Regions from separate parts of the Homo sapiens genome. Here region 1 is linked to region 2. Evidence: promoter capture Hi-C in 16 types of primary human blood cells and fetal thymus (Javierre and others, 2016). All regions are on one chromosome and are shown on one strand. The core of a region is centred on a gene start or on the middle of the fragment in contact, and the rest is flanking DNA. Distances in the headings are between cores, read along the strand shown. Region 1 overlaps KRT80 (keratin 80). Region 2 holds the start of KRT81 (keratin 81).

Region 1 (4,708 bases), core at 513-3,012, 120 kb before region 2:
TTTTGGGACTTTGGGGATGAGAATCTCTGAGTTCCCATGGCCAGAGAGTCAGTAACCCTCCAGTGCTCCCCACAGGCCTGGAGGGCCTTGAGGCCTGGGATGGGCCCAGACCTCTGGCCAACATGTCCTGGCAAATGAGATGAATGAATCTAATGCAGTCTAGAAGAGGAGGTGAGGCAAGGGGCAGGGAGGGGAGAGGAGAGTGAAGGAGGGAAGGAAGCTGTGCAGTGGGAGGCTGGTGCCGCTGGGATGCCTCTGCAAGCCTCAGCATTGAGAGCCAAGAGGAGGAGATAGGAGTATGCCTGCCAACACCCCTGTCTTCTGGTGGGATGTGGAATTTTCCTCTCTGGTAGAACCCTTGTAAGGCTGTCATTTGGGCCCCACAGCTGGACCTCAAGGGCTTGGAAGCTCCCAGACTTGCCTGGACTGTGCCTTCTTCCTGGCCTGCTGGAGGCAGGGGGAGTGGGCATGGAGGGAGGAAGGGGAAGGAGTGAGAAGAAAGGAGGAGCTCTAACCCCATAGGTGTGGGGGGTTCCTGGGCTCCCCCATGAATGCCAAGGAGGGGAGGGCCAGGCTATTTGGCCCAGTGGAGAGGAGAACAGAGGCCCTGAGAAGTGAGATTCTTGGGAAGTGGGCCTGGGGCTTCACGGCAGGGGTGGGACCAGGGGTCTCCAAGGCCTGGTGCACCAAAGCCCGGTGCTCAGGCTGGGAACAACCCGGCTGGGGGCACAGAGCTCAGATCCAGGCTGGGTAGGACCCCAGCATGGCAGGGAGGTGAAAGGAAGATCGAATGCTCCTGCCCAATCTCAAGCTGCCATCTGGCTTCCACTCCCAGGGAGTTGATTATGGCAAGAGCAGCTTCCGGAGAAGCTGCTGGGAGCTGGCTGGGGGCAGCCCATCCAGTTCTGACTACTGCCTACTGGGAGGGACCCATGGGAGGAGGAAGGGATGCGGGTGTTCGGGCTGATCTCTGGGGCCTAGGCTTAGGTCCCAAATAGCCAGGGCCCCTCCTCCCTTCACTCCCTAATACTGTCAGGTCTCTGGGGAGCCCAAAGAGCACGGGAAAGCCAAGAGGGTCTTCAGCAGCCAGCCTTCCCAGGAATTCCAGATACAGGACAGGGCCCACGCCGTCCTCCTCGGCTCCCGCACATAGGTGGATGAGCCAGTCCCAGTCCCAGTTCCGAGGCAGAGACAAGGCAAGGCTTGAGATAGGAGTCAAGGTCAAGGATTGGGCAAGAGTCAGAGGGGCCTTGGCAGAGCCTGATGCTGGAGGAGGAGCCTCAGAGGAGCGAGGAGGTGGAGACAAAACTGACCCCTAATTCCGACTCACCCATCAGGAAAACCTCTGGCCAGAAGGTTGGAAGGATGGGACTGTGAGATACTGATATGGAGCGGAGTGGCTCTGAGGAGCTGGTGATGCTCCTCTCCCACCCTGGCAGCCCACAAAACACAGTCAGTTTTGAACCCCTCTCTCAGTTCAATATCAGGTTTTGCCTCTCTTCTCAACCTAGAGGCTCCAAGCTGCTTTCTTGAGTCTAGCTTAAGTCCCTCCTGCTGCAGTGGAGTGCCCTGGGGTTCCTGGGGTCCAGCCGCCTTACTCTGAGACCTCCGACTCCTGCGAGAAGTACTTCTCTGACATTTCGGTGATTTTGATCACGGGGCCTTTGCTGCCCTTCTTCTTTCGGGAGGGGGCCTTGGAGAGGCCTGATCTGGAGGCAGCTACAGGGAACATAAGGGGTAGGGGAGGGAAGGGGCTGGAGGTTTGGGAGCCACTTAAAATGATGCCTTTAGGATCATGATCCCCTACACCCTCACCCTCACCCCACCATGGGTTCTCGGGGCAAGAGGACTCACCGGTTTTGCACCTGGACTGCACAGCGCTGACCACAGTGGCTGAGGGCGAGTCCATCCTGGGGGTGGGGGACGGGGGGGTGGGAGAGGGATATGATGGGATGCGAAGAGAGCCTGTGGCTTAAACTCCCCTGGGGGCTGGCAAGTGGAGGGTAGTTCTTGGTGGTCACTCCCAGCCCTGGGGTTGCCCTGTTGTGTGGCCCTGGCTAGCCAGCTTGTCCTTCCTGGGCCTCTGTCCCATCTCCATGGCATAAATGGCTAATAGCATTGAGCACTGAGTTTTGACAGGCATTTGCAGGCATAATCACATGAATCATCCCTGCCACAGGTGAACCATGTTTATGATCAGCCCACTTTCCAGATGGGGAAACAGGATGAAATGAACTGGGCCAAGGTCCCAGTTTGTAAGTGACTAAGCCAAGACTTAAACCCAGGCCTGGTAGGCTCACTGTATCATATTGGAAAGGAGAACTGACTTTGTGTAGGCCTGGGCCTCCAGCCCTCCTTCCCCTGCAGCCCTTCCTCACCAGCCCTGGCTCTCACCTGCCCTCCTCGCCCTCCACCAGCTTCCTGTAGGTGGCGATCTCGATGTCCAGGGCCAGCTTGACGTTCATCAGCTCCTGGTACTTGCGCAGCTGCCGCGCCATGTCCTGCTTGGCCTGCTGCAGGGCGGCCTCCAGCTGGGCCAGCTTGGTCTTGGCATCCTGGAAGGCCAGCTCACCCTGCTCCTCAGCTGTCTTGATGTTCTCCTCCAGTTTCAGGCACTGCAGCCAGGAGGACAGAGTGAAAGGGCCTGTGAGCAGGGGAAGGAGGAGCGGGCCAGGGCCAGGAGTCGTCTCTGTCCTTGGTGGGGGTAGGTGTGGGGAGGGAGGGCTGAGCAATGGCATTTCTGGGTGTGGTAACTGGTTGCCATGCAGCAAGAGGGAGTTCAGTTAGACCTGAAGAGGCACCTTCCCAAGGCCAGAGGAAAGCACCGCAAGCCACTAAAGGAGCCTGTCCCGGCTGTCCTTATGGGGCAGCACCTGCCCTGAAGGTTTGTCCTGGCTGGAAGCTGGGACTTAGGCCTCTACTCCCTCCTCTCTGTGTAGTTGGTGGGGGTTCCCAGGAGGGAGGCAGTGGGCTCTGGGTGTGTGTAGTGTGGGGGCTTTCTAACGTTCCAGCAGCCTTGACCAGATTACAGAGTATTTTTGTATGCAGAGCGCCTCATAACTACTTTAGGAGGCTGTGCTATTATCCCATTTGACAGATTAGGAAACTGAGGCACAGAGGCGCTAAGCGACCCACACAGGGTCACTCAGTCATGTCTTGCCTGTATTCAGCACACATGACTGTGTGTCTCCCTGCTCTCCTCCCCGCCCCCAGGCGCGTCCCCCAGATACTCACATGGCTCTTGACAGAGAGGATCTGGGACCGCAGCTTCTGGATGCGCACATTGAGATCCGCGATCTCGCTGCGGCTGCTCTGGAGGCTGCTCCCATACTCGGCCGAGCGGGCGGCCTGCTCCTCCAGCTGGAGGTACATGGAGGTCTCAGTGAGGGGCAGCTCAGTGCCGCTCCCAGCACTTGTTACCCGCCTCTGCTTTTTCTTGCATCCTCCAGTCCCATCTCCAACTCTGCAGCCCACCACGCCACGCCAGGCTCCCTCAGCTCCCCCTTCCACCTCCCTTTCTGGGTGGCCTCTCCTGGCTGCCCTAGCTGAGCCCCATGGGCCATGCCCACATCTGGCCTAGCATTGCTGATAACAGCACCACCTTGAACTCCTGGAGGGCACAGACCAGCTTCTGTGGTCTCCCCCCGCCCGCCCCGTCCCTGTGCTTCTCCATTCCTCTCTCATAGACTTTCAGGACAGAGAGCTGCAGGCAACCTCAGCCATCACCAGTCCAGCCCTTCCTGCCACCCAGAGAACTGTCCAGGCTGCTTCTCGTGCCCTGTGTGGTCAGCCCCACCTGGCTCCGAGAGTATGCCTCGGCCTCCTCCAGGCTGCGAGCCGCGACGGCGTCATACTGGGCCTTCACCTCCTCCACGATGCCGCTCAGGTCGATGTGGCAGCGGCTGTCCATGCCGACGGTCACCGACACATCCTTCACCTGTGCTGCCAGGTCCTTCAGCTCCTGACCGGGCACAGATGTGGGGGCTCAGGGCTGGTGGGGAGGGCACAAGGACCCTCAGCCCCACACAGTCACTTTGTCCCCGGGGTGAGCGGAGAGTGGAGCTGCTCCCTTCCTGTCCCTCTGGAGAGATGATGGAAGGCCGAATGCCTCCCTGCCACGTCTCCCCAGCCAGGACTCTCGGAAGGCAGCTCACTGCCCACTGCTCACCCACCCACAGTCCCCCTATCTGAGTGGAGGGCAGGCTGGGACTGTTGGTTTTAAAGGCTACCTGCAAGCTTCCCCACTGCCTGCACTGTTGCCCTCTCCTGGGAGGGATGGCCTACTCCTGGCTGATGGGAAAGGGCCAGAGAAGTCAGGCTCTGGGGCTGTGAGTTGGGCCCCTCTGTTTACTGTTTCATTATTCCTGTGCTGTGGGGTACAGCTCTGCCTCTCCCACTGGACGAGCAGCTCCTTGTGGGCCTGGCAGAGCTGTGTTCATCTCTGAGCCCCCACGTCTGGGAAAGGAGTGCCTCAGTTCATTTGGTAAATGTTGGGAGGGAAGCCAGGGAGTGACCAGGGTGGAGTGGGCTGGAGGCTGACAAACCTGTACTCCCCTCTCCCGGCCCCACTGAAAGCCAACAGCCTGTGAGGAGCCTGGGCGCAGCCTCCAGCACTCTGACTTCAGGGTCCCCCTGGAGACTCAGCGCCCACTCCCTCTCTAGCCAAGGGACATTGCCTGGACGACCACAATATTTTCACCGTCTCCTA
Region 2 (4,771 bases), core at 661-3,160:
GTATCAATCCCAGCTCAGGTATGGGGCCTCCTGGACCCGCAGACCCTCAGGACTTAGAACCTAAGGCAGTGGGACACCCAGAGCCCAAGACCTGTCACTCATGAGAGACCCTGGGCTCACATCTGACAGGTGCTACAAGTATAGGGGCTGAGGGTCAGGAGAGAAGGCCTGGACCCTGCAGAGGCTTCCTCCCCACCCAGCGCAGGGGAGAGCTGCTGGGTGATGTGGTTCAGGGAGAGAAGGCTGAAGTGGGACAGAGACAGGTCATGGGAGTCACAGCCCTCCTCTTACACAGGTGTCTGGGCAAAGATTCCACAAAGGAAAAGACCCCGCCACCCTCGGTCAATCTAGTGGTCATGGCCACTCACCCTACCTGGGAGTTCTTATTGTCTAATCCAGTGTATTTAACCTAAACCCCATTCCTGTGCCCAGCATCCCTCTTGCCCGCACTCACTTCTTCTTGTAGCCCTCCAGCACCTCCTGCACGTGGTTAAGCTCTGAGGCCAGCCTCCCGCTGTCGGCCTCCACGCACTCGGCCTCCCGCCGCAGAGTCTCGATGTAGCCCTCAAACAGGGGCTCCAGGTTGCTCTGGCAACACTCGCGGTTCTGGTAGAACTGCAGCTTTGTCTCCAGCAGTTTGTTCTGCTGCTCCAGGAAGCGCACCTGCCATTCGGTGTGGGAAGGTGGGGCAGATGGTGTCTGGTGCCCCAAAGCCAGCTCTGGGGGCTCGCAGGGGAGGTGCTTTAATGGGAACCCCCAAATCTGGAGCTTATCTGAGATTGAGTAGAGGTGGGCAGTGGGAGACAGACAATTTCTGGATTTCCTGGTCATGATCTGTGTCTAGATTTCCCACTCAGGAGTGGAGCAAGGGCTGGGTGGTGTCAGTGCCTGCTCCCTGGGGAGTTGAGTGACCCCCCCCCCCCAACCCAAGCAGATGAACAGAAGTGGAGGCTCAGTCCCTCACTATGAAACTAGGTGATCAGCAACCCACACAGGCAGAGTACTCAGGTTCAGATCACAGATGAGGTTTCTGGGGATGGTGCCAGGAAGAGGGTGTCACAGGCCATCTGGAAGGGAGCTCAGCTGTCCCAGCCCTTCCCCTGTGTCATCTGGAAGTCAGTGCACCCTACTCTCTCACCCTGGGGCTGCCCAAACCCCTCTGAGTTCAGCAGCAGTGGTCACATGCCCCCCTCCCCCAACTCCCTGATGTCTAGCTTGTGCCCCAGAGCAGCCTGGCCACACTTTTCCTTCACAAGCTCCCTCTATCTGAACTGTCAGCTGAGTCTGCATCTTGAGTGCCTGTGTGTGTGTGTCTGTGCATGTGTCTGTCTGTCTGTGTGTCTGTGTGCCTCGCCCATCAGACTGGGATCTCAGGCAGGCAGAGGTCTTTGTGCCTCTGACTCCATCCTTAGTGCCCGGCCCTGGCTGTGTAGGTGGTGGGGGTTCAGGAAGGGTGTGATCCAGGACACCCACCTTGTCGATGAAGGCCGCGAACCTGCTGTTGAGGGACTTGATCTGCTCCTTCTCCTCCTGCTTCACGCACTGCGCGTTGGGGTCGATCTCCAGGTTGAGGGGCGTGAGGAGGCTCTCGTTGACCGACACGGTGGTGATGCATGGGGGACTGGGCCCGCACACGCCCCCGGAGCGGTAGCCGAAGCTGCGTCCGCAGGAGCCGGCCCGAAAGCCTCCGCACACGCTGTGGCTGCCGAAGCCCCCGGTGAGGCCGCGGTAGCAGGAGATGCCACGGTAGGGGGCGGCGGTGATGCAGCAGCGGCCGGGCCGCGGCCCGCAGGCCGAGATGCAGCTGAAGGCGCGCCCACCAAATCCTGATCCGCAGGTCATGATCCTCCTGGACGTTTGGGTTGCAGAGGACAGGATAGGGGACCTGGAGTCCTGATGGAAACTCCAATGTGCTCCTCAGGGCACCGCAGCCCTATTTATGCGCAGATTCTGAAGGGGCTTGGCTGTGAAGATGATGTTGGGGCAATTTGCGCTTTATGGGCTTGGGTGGTTAGCCGGGTCTAACGCCTCTCCAGAATGTGCTTTAATGGGGGAGTGGCCTGCACCCTCTTCTTTGTAAAAGATGTCAGTCTTGGGCTCTGGGGGAGTCAGCATGTTTCATCTTCAAAGTGTCTTGCCAGCAGGGCATTCCTTCATCTGCAGGCATTGGGGAGGGAAGGGGAAGGCAGAGGAGAGGACGAGAAGGAGGAGTAGAGCCTGGCGAGGGGAAGAGAAGGGAGGCCAGGTGCTGGGAGAAACTGGGAGGAGGAGACCTGTGTGTTAAGTGTGATGTGGGGAGAGGGGTTTCAGGAAAGGCTGAGGCATTAATAAATACCATCTCTCATTTCCATCACAGCTGTGGCTAAAGTGCTCCTGAAACACAAATCTGGATTTCCCCATCTCCAGATTTTTCAGTTGGCAGCTGAAAACCATCTCACTTTTCCTACCATGGGAACAGTCAGCAGATTATTAAATATTTGTCTTTTATCTTTTTTATGATGAAAGCTTTCAAATATTGAGGAAAATTGGAATAATACAACACACATGCATTGATGCTCCACCTGTTTACCCCGATTCAACAGTTAACATTATACCATATTTGCTTTCACAGTTGCCCAATTATTTGAGTGGCAGAAAGCATGGCATGTCACCCTTAAATACATCAGCAGGAATTTCTTAAGAATAAGGAGAGTACTATTTTCTTATTCAGGAAAATTAACAATAATTCCAAAGCACCACTTACTATTCATCTCAGATTCAATTTTCCTAACTGTCCTAAGGATTTTAAAACTACATTTTACATAATTTAATTTGTGGCTCTAGCCCTTGTATTTTCTATAAATTAGAAAGTAAATCTTGAGCTGGGATGTCCAATTTGGTAGACAATAGGCAGATGTGGCTACTTAAATTTAAGTTAGTAAAAACTAAATAAGTTAAAAATCTAGTTATTCAGTTGCACTATCCACATTTTGAGTCCTCAGCAGCTACCTGTAAGTAGTGCCTACCTTATTAGACAGTGCATATAAAGAACACTTCTTTATTATTTATTTTTATTTTATTTATTGTTTATTTTCACATAAAATTCTGTTGGACAGCACTGGGCTAGAGGCTGGATTAGGTTTAAATTAAACATTGTTGGGACAGAATACTTCATAAAATATGCTGTGTAACTCTTATTATATCACCCCAGGAAGCATAAAATGTCAGATTGGTGATGCTAAATTGAATCACAGCTGGGCGCAGTGGCTCATACCTGTAATCCCAGCACTTTGGGAGTCTGAGGGGGGTGGATCACCTGAGGTCAGGAGTTCAAGACCAGCCTCAGTGGAGGAGTTTAAGACCAGAGATGGTGAAACCCCGTCTCTACTACAAATACAAAAATTAGCCCGTTATGGTGGCACGTGCCTGTATTCCCAGCTACATGGGAGGCTAAGGCAGGAGAATTGCTTGAACCCAGGAGATGGAGGTTGGATCACTTCAGTACATTTCCCCCTGTATTAGGAAAAACTGTATAGAGAATTAGAATTAGAAAGAACTGTGTAGAGAAACATGGATCTTAGTTTGATAAGAATATGTTTCTTTTTAATTGGTCACCTACTATGTGATCATCATTATATATCGTAAATGATCTCTAATTCTCACATCAATCATATGAAGTATGTGCCATTATCCCCATTTTACTGATGAGGAAACCAAGGGTCAGGGAGGTTAAATAACTTGCCCGAAGTCTCCCAGCTGGTAAGTGATGGAGCCAGGAGTTGCATTGCCTTCTCACTTATAAGCTGTGACAACCCCTTGACTTCCTAATCTTTGGATAAGTTCAAGAGGGTAGTGAAAGTTGTTTACAGGGGAGTATCTGTGAATTTAGGGTGTGAGAGAGTCCATCTAAGGAAGACGGGCAGAGTCAGAGTGGATTGGGATGGTTAGAACCATGAGGGGTCATTTAGGGACACACGGCGATGTGAGGCTACTTGGGGGCTGGGAAGGAGTATGAGTTAGATGTGCAGCACCCCGTGGCTAAGAATTGAAGGACGGGGTGGAAAACATCAGTTTTAGTTATTTGCATACCTCTGGTATATGGCAATACTTTGATAGACTGTACTATGTTCTACTTACCCAGTGAACCACCCCCCACTCCAATAGAGCAGGTCCTAGAAAAATTAGCTCGTAAAGTACAGAGGTTTGCATTAAATTGAGGAGAAGAAAAGAGAAGTGAAATGGCCTGGCTTATAGCCCCCTGGAGCTGCTATGCTTCAAGGGCAAAGGCAGGCAGAGTAGACTTAGGGAATGAGAACAGAAGCAGGATTGATGGGAAAAGAGAGGAGAGGAAAAAAATAGAAGAGAATAGGGCTCTCAGGGTATCTGTGCAAAACATTCAGAGTGTGGCCTTGTGCAGGACAAATGTGGGAGGTCACAGACTGTGTTGAGCTATCTGGTCACCCCAGAGAAGAGTATGGCACCTGCTGTCCCTTTGTGAGTTCAGGGCTGCTGGGCCAGCACTTCTGAAGCTCTTTGTACCCTCATCTGGAATTTGGGGCACTGCTCACAATTGAGCAGTGATGTCCCCAGTAAACCAGCGGTTGGGTGTCCTGAGGAGCACTGTGAGTCAAAGTACATCTCATCCACACTTCACCTTTTCTACCAGTATAACTCCTTATAAAAACAACATGTATAAACACAAGCTAATTACTAATGGCTGGTCCTTACTAAGCAATTTTAAAGATGTAAGAATATGAAAAATTCAAATGTGACACCATTTCATTAAACTTCA

The links. Contacts are between HindIII fragments. The CHiCAGO score rates a contact against its expected background, and 5 or more counts as called.
Region 1: a fragment that was not itself captured here is called in contact with the fragment with the promoter of KRT81 in region 2 in 1 of 17 cell types (M1 macrophages); the score reaches 5.3 in M1 macrophages.

What each region holds. Positions count from the first base shown.
Region 1 is chr12:52,169,804-52,174,511 of GRCh38, forward strand. KRT80 (keratin 80) reads right to left here. Exons shown (of 9, transcript NM_182507.3): 5 at 3,797-3,961; 6 at 3,235-3,360; 7 at 2,395-2,615; 8 at 1,855-1,910; 9 at 1-1,719. The coding sequence ends at 1,595. Among named protein-coding and RNA genes, the nearest start is that of KRT80, 20 kb to the right of the region's middle. The HindIII fragment of the contact is 4,944 bases long and covers 1-4,234 here.
Region 2 is chr12:52,289,624-52,294,394 of GRCh38, forward strand. KRT81 (keratin 81) reads right to left here and starts at 1,911. Exons shown (of 9, transcript NM_002281.4): 1 at 1,474-1,911; 2 at 455-663. The coding sequence starts at 1,842. The region is part of intron 2 of KRT86 (keratin 86); the gene reads left to right. The HindIII fragment of the contact is 6,626 bases long and covers 1-2,503 here.